3 separate regions of the Homo sapiens genome follow, and all the other regions are linked to region 3. Evidence: promoter capture Hi-C in 16 types of primary human blood cells and fetal thymus (Javierre and others, 2016). All regions are on one chromosome and are shown on one strand. The core of a region is centred on a gene start or on the middle of the fragment in contact, and the rest is flanking DNA. Distances in the headings are between cores, read along the strand shown. Region 1 overlaps ANKRD60 (ankyrin repeat domain 60). Region 2 has its middle 13 kb from the start of ANKRD60. Region 3 holds the start of NPEPL1 (aminopeptidase like 1).

What was found. The method cuts DNA at HindIII sites, captures the fragments that hold promoters and counts their contacts. A CHiCAGO score of 5 or more calls a contact.
Region 1: a contact is called between a fragment that was not itself captured here and the fragment with the promoter of NPEPL1 in region 3, in 1 of 17 cell types (activated CD4 T cells). The highest score is 5.2, in activated CD4 T cells.
Region 2: a fragment that was not itself captured here is called in contact with the fragment with the promoter of NPEPL1 in region 3 in 10 of 17 cell types (total B cells, naive B cells, megakaryocytes and 7 more); the score reaches 9.9 in total B cells.

Annotation. Positions count from the first base shown.
Region 1 is chr20:58,220,143-58,223,472 of GRCh38, reverse strand. It overlaps ANKRD60 (ankyrin repeat domain 60), which reads left to right. Exons shown (of 4, transcript NM_001304369.2): 2 at 291-421; 3 at 1,970-2,135. Among named protein-coding and RNA genes, the nearest start is that of ANKRD60, 6.8 kb to the left of the region's middle. The HindIII fragment of the contact is 1,720 bases long and covers 435-2,154 here.
Region 2 is chr20:58,240,241-58,243,553 of GRCh38, reverse strand. It overlaps the pseudogene PPP4R1L. Among named protein-coding and RNA genes, the nearest start is that of ANKRD60, 13 kb to the right of the region's middle. RefSeq lists an enhancer at 1,590-2,090. The HindIII fragment of the contact is 2,151 bases long and covers 676-2,826 here.
Region 3 is chr20:58,691,074-58,694,071 of GRCh38, reverse strand. NPEPL1 (aminopeptidase like 1) reads right to left here and starts at 1,272. Exons shown (of 12, transcript NM_024663.4): 1 at 1,022-1,272; 2 at 150-335. The coding sequence starts at 1,171. It overlaps STX16-NPEPL1 (STX16-NPEPL1 readthrough (NMD candidate)), which reads right to left. Exons shown (of 23, transcript NR_037945.1): 9 at 2,845-2,998; 10 at 2,510-2,667; 11 at 2,292-2,348; 12 at 150-335. RefSeq lists silencers at 757-846, 867-946, 977-1,136, 1,147-1,636 and an enhancer at 1,134-1,839. The HindIII fragment of the contact is 11,943 bases long and covers 1-2,998 here.

The sequences.
Region 1 (3,330 bases), core at 45-2,544, 470 kb after region 3:
TACTGACTCATGTGCCTTTTCACAATAGGACAAGTTATAATTACAGAATTTTATAAATCGTTGGCATTGTGATTTTGTTCGGCTTCCATCTGAGCTGAACCAAATTTATTTTCTGAAAAGCATTACCAACAACAGACAGACCCACGCGACACCATCAAATGAGATTTGTATTCGATATTTCTAAAATTATCTTTGTGGCACTCAAGGTCAGATAATCTCTTAACTTAACCAATGTAGTAGTTTATCTTTAATACCCAATTTTTTAAAAGAAAAAAAATTTTTCCCTGCAGGAGTTTTGATGGATGACACTACCCTGAAGTTCCATGATGTTGTTCCTGGAGGGATTATTTCATTATGTATCTGGCATCATGACGGATGGACAGAACTTGTTTTGGCGGCTGTGGAAGGGGATCCCAGCAAGGTGTTTTCAAGCTTCTTTAAATGGATATTATACGTTACGAAGCAACCGTAAATTGTGGGGGGAAAATTAGTCTTTAATACGGATATGTGAATAACAGTTTCAGAGCAGGGAAGAGAGAACGATGAGCCGTGTCATAATTATGAAATACCGCACTGAGGGTTTGCCTTCACTCCTTGGGTTTACCATTTTGCTGGGTTTATCGATTTGTGATTTATAACCCACTTACCGCCCCACCCCTCCCCGCAAAGGAGTCGAGGCAGCACGTTTCTATTCATGTTTATAAGTGATAAGGTTGGAAATCTAATTTAATACTGAGAGGAGAACTCCAGATAACTGAGAAGCGTACAGCTCAGAGCTCGGGGCTGTGGTACAGGCCTCCGCCAGGTGCTGCCTGGTTCCGGAGGGAGAGGCCCCTCGTTCCCGGGGTGAGCGGCGGGCGCTCTGTCCTCCAGGGCTCCTGCTGGCCTCTCAGCTGGGCTCTAGGGGTGGGCAGTGGGGGGCAGGAGGATAGAAACCAGATGTGTACCCAACAGGGAAGATGAATCACTGTGACACGAGGGGCAATGCTATATTCTTCCTAGAAAAGAAATTCGGATGGAAAGCTATGTGCTCCTGGAGAAGAAGAGATGGAGTTTCTTTGCTCAGAAAGGGGTCAGGGAAGGCTGGGTGTAGCAGGGGCTGGGATTGGCGCTCTTGGAAGAGTGCGTGGGCTCGGGGCAGGTGCGGCAGGAGGCAGCCTTGGCAGGGAGGGTAGGCAGGATGGGGCCCTGTCCCAGCCCTGACACATCTCCTAGTCCCTCCCGCTCCTCCTCCTCCACACTCTCCTCTGCCCCTTCTGTCTCCCTGCCCTTTGTCACCAGCAGTGTGGTCCATGCTTGGTTTTCTGGCTCTTACTCTGGCTGCAGGGGTCACCTCCCTGCTGTTTGAGGCTGTCAGAATTGCCATCATCCTCGTCTCGATTCTGATCCTCCCACTGCCCCAGTCCTGACTCCCATATCAGGGCAGAGTATCCTCCCTGGGGGAACCCGTAGCCTTCCTCCCAGGCTCAAAGACTTAATTCACCACGAGGTGGTTACGTGACCGGGCTGTTCACCTGTGCATGTTCAGCTTGCTCTGAAACCTAATGGAGACAGTGGGCACACAAATAGACGGGAAAGCCAGATCCGGTCTCCAAGAGATGACTGTCACCCTCTGGGAGGCCATTTATATTGGCTGGTGTCTTCCTCAGTGGCTTCAACCACCTTCCTGTGGACACCTGGCAAAGCTATTTTCTCTCTTCAAAACATTGACAGGAAGACCTTCCTGTGTTCCGAGCCTGACTGACGGCGAATTCGTATTTCCTGAACATATATAAAGCATTAAATCATGGCCTCCCCATGCTGTCCTGGGTGTTTCTCAGCTTTTCATGAGGGTTTGCACCTCTCTTTTCCCATCATGAGCCTTAATTTGACATTCAAGCAAGCCTTCCCCTGAGCATGCCCCATCAGCCGTCCAGCAAAATGTAGCCACGCTTTTGAGAATAACTCAAACTCCTCTTGTCTTGCCCAGCTATCTTGTCTCGGGCTTACTGAAGATTCCTTCTACCGAACCGCAAATTCAGAACATTTTGAGGGTGAGAAGTGGAAGCACTGGACGTCTCAGAGGGCGTTTGTGGCGTTGTATGTGGCCTCACACAGAGGCCACTTTGATGCTGTGCAGTACCTTCTAGAACACGGTAATTCTGGTAGAAAGCTTGCTATATTCATGAGTTGGGATTTTTTGCAGGTAGAAAGGACAGAGTGTCTTGTGTTCCCAGTCCTTCCAGCAGTGGTTTCCTGGACCTGTGTCTTGTCAGCCACCAGTCAGGGTCCCCATGGTGCCACTCACTCCCTGTCTAGGCAAGTGTCTTAGGGCACGCCAGTCAGAGGCTGCCCTCCTTCTCTTCACCAGGTCTCGAGAAGATTCTTTCTGCTTCAGTGAGGCAGAAATTTCAGGACCCAAGACACAGGCGGCAGCTATAAAGGATCCCTGGTTCATTTCTCACCAGACACATTGCTGGGAATATTCGCATGCTGTCTGTGTGATTTCCAGCCTCGCATGAAATTAGGATGCTGCAATGGTCCGAAATGGTCTAGCCTCTGGCCAGGCACGGTGGCTCATGCCTGTAATCTCAGCACTTTGGAAGGCTGAGGCGGGCAGATCACATGAGGTCAGGAGTTCACAACCAGCCTGGCCAACCAGCCTGGTGAAACCCCGTCTCTACTAAAAATACAAAAATTAGCTGGGTGTGGTGGCACGTACCTGTAGTCCCAGCTACTCAGGAGGCTGAGATAGGAGACTACAACACACACACACACACACACACACACACACACACACACACACACACTAGAAAAAACCCCAAAATAGTCCACCTTCCAGCCAGCACAGCTCTGTGGTGGATGGCAGGATCACCATTCTCCCTTCTCCAAGCCTCGTTATTATTTTCTCACAAGACATTCATGCTGAACTCTCTTTTCAACCCACCTCCACTTAAGGGCCTCCTTCCACTCTCTCTCTCTCTCTCTCTCTCTCTCTCTCTCTGGCTCTCTTGATAGATAGAAACAGAAGCCTTAGCCAACATTGTCTCCAAATTAAAGAGCTTTACATAGTATTCCATAGGTGTACACTCTATCCTCCCTGGATGTGGGATATTTTTGGGAAAAGATGCCCATTGATGGAGATGCAGACCACTCAATGCGGAGTGGAGAACAATGGAGAACAGCTGTTAACAGCCTAGACCCTCAAGAACAATGGAGAACAGCTGTAACAGCCCAGACCACCAGCTTCCTTGGAAAAAGGGAGAACATGTTACGTGGTGTTTGGTCAATGGTTTGGGCTCAGGAGGGGCCTTTCCCATGGGTCTCCTGTATCAACTTGCCTCCAAATTA
Region 2 (3,313 bases), core at 502-3,001, 450 kb after region 3:
TCTCAGGATGAGCTCTTTGTGGCCAGGATATTACAAAGCCCAGTAAGTATTTGCCGTATCCCTCAGCCACCGAGGATGTGACAGAAATCACAAAGCAGCATTTTCTCTTATTAATATATCCCAGCAGAGATGATAAATGGCAAATTTCATTTTATTCTTAAGGTCATGTTTTGGATAACTAGACAACCAATCAATCAGGTGATTGATAGTGCCGACGCGCTCCCACGAAGACGGGTGGGCACCAGAAAGTACCTTCCCTCTTCTCCAGAGATGACAAGAACTTCTTCTTTGGGGAGGTTAACCATGTAAATGCTCTGTGTCACTGCTAACAGACATCAACATCTTTTAATAATAGTGGAGGGTGAATTCAGGCAGTTCCTGGAATTTCAAGTGGACGAGGCCTCCCAGAGCAGCTGTCACACCAGCCGCCCATTTGGTAGGCGCTCTGGCATACGTGGATGCTCCAGTGCTGGTCCTGGCATGCTGTTTCTCTTTCTTTTGAAAAAGCACCAGTGACCCCCTTCCTCCTGTGGGTGGAACCAGCCCCTTGTGAGACCACGGCCCCAAAGCTGGAGTGAAGAGGGGCCCATGATTTATTTCTTCAGGTTTCTCCAGGAGCTTGGGTCAACCCCTTGTAGCTGGAGGTTCTTGAGCTGTCCTAGTTTCTACTAAGCTTCCACTTGGACCACTTTAAGTTGGGGTCTTCCACAGGTAGGGGGGCAGAATGGAGGATTAAAATGAGGGAGGAGTCTGTGGTCATACAGTCATTGGGATAGCACCGTGTCATTATCATGTGCCATGATGGATAATCTCTTCAATCTCATGGTCTCCAGGGCCTAAATACCAGTTGTTTCTCTATTCATACAGTTTAGAACTTGATTTCAGTGATTAACACCTCCCTTACCCCTTAGGCCTGCTCTAATAAAGCAAAATAAAACATTTTAGAACTCAAACATAAAATGTGTAGGAGTTGGTTATCTGTGATTAATAAGAAATGGGGTGATATCCTCTTCTGCTGGTTTGTTGCTAAAAAAATTAGCAAGAAAGCTCATTATTGTCAACCTTGTTACCTAGAGTGCAAAAGTTGCAAGTGTTAAGTAGAAGGGTGTGACCACATTTACCTTGGTGGGGATGTGATAGTATTTGGACTTCTTTATCATAGAGGTGAAAAAAAAAAAAAAGAACAGATTCCTCCAGGCTGGGGCTTTTGAGTTGCAGCTTTAAAAGGGTTTGTGTAATGGAGCCTGTTTTATGGTGTGGGAGGGCAGAGCCCTTGAATTTGCGGCTTGACTCCAAGATCCTAGTGGGATTAATTAGGATGCTTCCTGTCGCAAAAGAAGGGAGAGGAAATAAAAAACTCCAAGAACCATGAGGAAAATGTTCTCTTGCACAAGACAAGAGGAAGAAGTGCTGTGGTTGGGCAGCTTCTGGGCTGCTAGACTCCATACCTTTGGTGCTGATCTGTCCACCCTTCCCCTCTGCTGTGGTGGCTTTTGTCAGCATGAAATGCCCAGTGGAAGGCGGGGCCTGTGTCTTCCCACTTGTCTCTTTTGAAGAACAAGGACACCCCAGGCGGGAAACCACCTCCCTGCCCTCTCCTTCTGCCTCCCTCTTCCTGGCCACAGTCACGGTGTGCATTCATGGGTTGAGCATGGTGAACTGGGCAGAAACATGGGAGCCCCCTGAGTCGGGATCCTGCTAGAAAGAAGGCTGCTGGATGCTGAGTGGTGGGTGCACAGGTAGCCAGCCAGCATGGTGTCCCACTGGGGTTTGGGGAACTCACAATACCTTCTGGAGGTGCCATGACTTGTGGTGATTTGCTTAAGCCTTGATTTGGCTCCTGGATTAAGTGCTGCACATATGCTTGCACTGAAGACTTTGGAATAAAATTAATTTCTAAAGGGATAATAGTGATTCTAATGACACATCTTGTTACTATATGTGAATTTATTAATAATAAGACCACAAGAAATTGAGGTCTTAGGTTTTTATACCAAAATATTTCTGTTTTATCATGTCCTCTGTTAAAATAAATAGTACATATCAGTGAAAACCTTGGGAATTGAAGGTTCTGGTGGCGCGCCTCAGAGCAAACGAAGCATCTATCGGTGTGTTAATCGACTTTCCTGGATCATACATTGAGCTGATTTGTCAGAATCCATTAAGCTGGTAGACAGTATGACATTTCAAGTGCAACTTGGAAATCCATGTTATGGTTGAAGGAGAAGGTCAGGTCCATCTCAGTTAATGTTAATCAACGATCAGAGACCAAAATGTCACCATTGAATGTTCTTGTTCATTTTAATTGTTTACCTAATGTAAAGGTTTATCAGCGAACATCAGGAGTGTTTGTACCTGTGAAAATCTAGGACAATTTTCTGATTAAATACTCCTGTATCAGCCACATCTTTTCTCTCAGATTCATTGGGTTCCCCAGCCCCCATCCTCTTTCAGGGACCCACCATTGCTGCAATCCCTGATTACCAAGAAATGCTGGAGGTGCTGGCTCTACCACTTCTTGCAAACCTCACCCTTCTGGAGTAGTCTGTGCCTTAAACATGTGAATATTACTTAAAGGTGTTGGTTAGCCATACCAGGGAGTCCCTAGGGCATAAGGAATAGTGGATGCAAACTCACAGGGTTGCTCCTCAGTGCTTTCACTTTAGCCTTTGTATTTCTGTAAGGACCTCCAGCAGTCTTGAAATTAAAATGTATGAAATCAATTTTCCTTTGCACTTAAAAGAACTGGTTTATACAGTATCATATGTAACTGTGCAAATGTAATTTTTAACATCTGGAAAGATACCATTGACTTCAAGGAAAGCTTTTGCCTTGGCTTACAGAAGTAATTTCTGGCATTGAAAAAGGACTCTTTGAAGGGGAAGTGACAGGACAGCTGCTTCCTTTGGAGCAAATTGGTAACATGTCCAATCAACTCTGTAGGATCCAGGTGGACCCAGAAATGGAACCAGTGACCATCTGGAGACTGACCAGAGGCAGGATCCCACCCCACTTGAAGAGAATAAATCTAAATTACAGGTTCGTTTCTTTCGGGGGCGGGGGGGCGGGGAGGCAACTCAAAACTGTGTATTTTCTTAAAGTTAACTTTAAGAATTGGAACCAAATATTTTTTCTTCTATCAATATTGATTACATATTTTAATTCATATTTCGTGTTGCTAATTGTAAAAAATTAATTGTAAGGTAGTGTTTAAGCTTCTGAACAATCTATAATAGTGTTTTCAATAAAGCAAACTAATATGAGAAAAAAATAAGACATCTAACACTGATTTGATTGAGTTCTATCTCAGTCA
Region 3 (2,998 bases), core at 23-2,522:
CCTGTTTCCCTGTCTACAGAGCAGGGATGATAACGTCCACAGCCCTCTGGGCGTGCGCTGCAGTCTGAGCAGGGCTGTGAGCTCCCCAGGCCCGAGCTCACCGCTGCCCGACTAGGAGCACCGTGGCTGCCTCCTCTCGAAGCACTCACCACAATGCAGCGATGCGCTCCGGGCGGCAGGCAGGTCCGCACCAGCCGCGTGATGAAGTGGGCGGCCGAGGGGCTGTTGTGCCGGCTCACCCTGCAGGGCAGGGCAGCCACGGTGGCGTAGTTCAGGTAGAGGGGACAGCTGTCCGTGGGGTTGGGGTTGAGCGTGCTCAGGGCAGCCTGCCAGAGCTAGATCAGAAGGGAGAGACAAGACACAGAGGCTTCAAACAGCGGCCACGTGCCAGGAGGCCCTGCCCTGCAGCCACGGCCACAACCACTCCTGCAGTCCTGGAAGGGCACTGCGCAGCTCCCGGCCACCGTTTTCCCATCCTTAGGGAGATGTGTCGCCTCTCTGCAGAGCTAACTGTCTCTAGGCTGGCTCGCATCCCCCTGGTGGGATGAAGCCACCAAGCCTGGAAGGGCCAGGCTGGGGGCTGCTTTGCTTCCAACACTCGGATAGGGCTTAGGCGGCTTCCACCAGAGAGGGGGCAGGGGCCAGGTGTCCCCAAGGAAAGGCAGCTGGGGACACTGCCATGGGAACTTCTGGAAGCCAGGGCCTGTCGCCAGGCGGGGCCGACGCGCGGCCCTGGGAGCGGCCACGTCTCCCCCCCCGCCGTCCGCAGGTGTCGCGGCCTCGCGGGGCGCAGGGCTGGGCTGACAGGAGGACCACCGCGCCGCACCGGCGACGGGGCCTGGGGCTGGGCCTCCGCGGGCGAGGACTGGCCTGGCGGCTGAGCCCTTCAGGGAGGCGGCCCGGCCTCGTTGGGCCCGGCCCGGCGGCGGCGGGGGTGCGGCGGGCGAGGCGGGGCCTCCGCGGGCCGCCCGGGCCTGGGCTTCCGCGGCGCGGGTCGCATGGCGGCCGGCGGCCCGCTCACCTCCTCGGTGACCCGGGGCTGCAGCTTCCCGCGGACGTGGCTCCAGGGCACGCGGTGCAGGTGGTGCAGCTGCCCGAGCAGCAGCAGGGGCCGGCTCTGTGGGTCCGAGTCCCCCGCGCTCGCCTGGAACTGCAGCCCCACGTTCGCCATCTTCCTGCCGGCCCACGCCCCGGCCCTGCCCGGCCCGGCCCGGCCCGCCGCTCGGCCCCCTTCGCCCCGCTCCGGCCCGGCCTCGGCACCGCCCCGGCCCTGCCCGGCAGCCCGCGGGCCCCGCCTCCCCCGCCGCTCCGGGCTGCTCGCGAGACGTGCAGGGCCCGCCCGGGGCGCGAGGGGGCGCCGGCCAGGCCGGGCGGAAGGGTGCGGGCAGGCCCGGCCGGGCAGGCCCGAAGCCGGCCCCGAGCAGGCCCTGCCGAGTAGGGCCCGCGCGCCCGGCCTCCAGCGGCGCCGCCCCTGGGCCTAGCGGCCCTGCCCAACACGCGGGGCGACGTGGCCCGCCAGGCAGCGCCTCCCGGACGGGCCTGGCCTCCAGTGGGGCCTGGGCCGACGTAGGCCCAAGCCCACCCGACGCAGTTCCGCCCGGTCAGGCCTCAGGCTGGCCCCAAGCAGGTCCCCCGAGGTCCCTTAGCAGCTGCTTTTGATCCCCAGGGACCCCGCACCCTGGCCACCCATCAGTTAGGCCGGAGGGGCCCAGTGACTCTTGGACCTGAGTCAGGTCCTTTTGTCCCACTGCCTGGCATGGTGGGTACAGCGTGGACGGTCACTTCCTCCTCACTTAATCGGAGGTTCCCTGGCGTTTATCAGACCCCGCTCTGCCAGGCACTGCCCTGGATGTGAGAGGGTGACAGGGACGTGGCTTTCCATCCAGGGCACTGCTGCTGGGATGGCCAGTTACAAATCCAGGCACTGCCTGGCTGCATGGGGGGCCTTCCCGCCCACCCCTTTGCAAGAAGGGTCATCTGGCACAGTCTAAGCAGGAAAGGAGGGACGAGATGAGACGAGGAAGGAGCAGGGTGACCTGAGTCACCTCAGTCGCCTTACAGGGGAGGAAAGGCCATCGGGGGTGTGGGGCAGGAGCCGGGTGGTGGAGGAGCCAGGGGTGAGCCTTGAGTGGATGGTGGAGGCGGAGGGTCCCACCCACAGGGTCAGATGCAAGGGTCAGGGAATGACGATGCATTGGGGAAGCTCCACCCAGGAGTCATTTAAAAGCAAAAATCTGTTACCCAACATCCTGATTGCTCAAGGGCCTTTGGTTGGTACCCTCCTCTGTTACCTCCATGTAGTTCCATAAGCCACTCCTGTTATTTTGAGTTTCTTCTTCATAACCAGCCTAAAAATGAAAAAAAAAAAAAAAAAAAAAGAAAAGAAAAAAAGAAAAAAAAGCACTGTCAACTCCCTGGCGTGGTGTGAGAGGTTTTCCACCACTGACCTCCCAGCTGGCCCCCTAGCTCCCTAACTTGTAGCCCCGGGAGCCACAAGCCAGGCTTTCACCTTCCCTGTCCACAGGCTCCAGGTCTGTCTGCTCAGCTCTGAGCCATGGTCCCTGGCCCCTTGGAAACACCACAGACTAGAGCTTCAGCATCCTGAAGGCAGGTCTTTTTGACTTTTTGTTGTTTTTTTTTCCTCCAGTTCCTGGCACAGAGCAGGCACTCAAAAAAAAAAAAAAAAAAAAAAAAAAAAAAAAAAAAAGCTGTTGAATGACTGAAAGGCATTCCTTTGAAACCCTCAGCTTTCCCGACATAAAAGTCAACGCTAATTGGATCTTATTTTCTTCAAAAGATTTTACAGCAGCTGAATGTTTTCACACATTGGTAAAGGGTACTAACAGTGTGTATGAAGATCTCTCACTCTTTTTTCTGTTTGCAAATACGTTGCAGACAGGCACACGGCACTCCAGAGGACTGAGACAGCTGGAGGATCTTCCTAGAGGGTGAGAGACTAAGGCCATGCCCTGACAGATGTAATAGGACTTCCACAGGC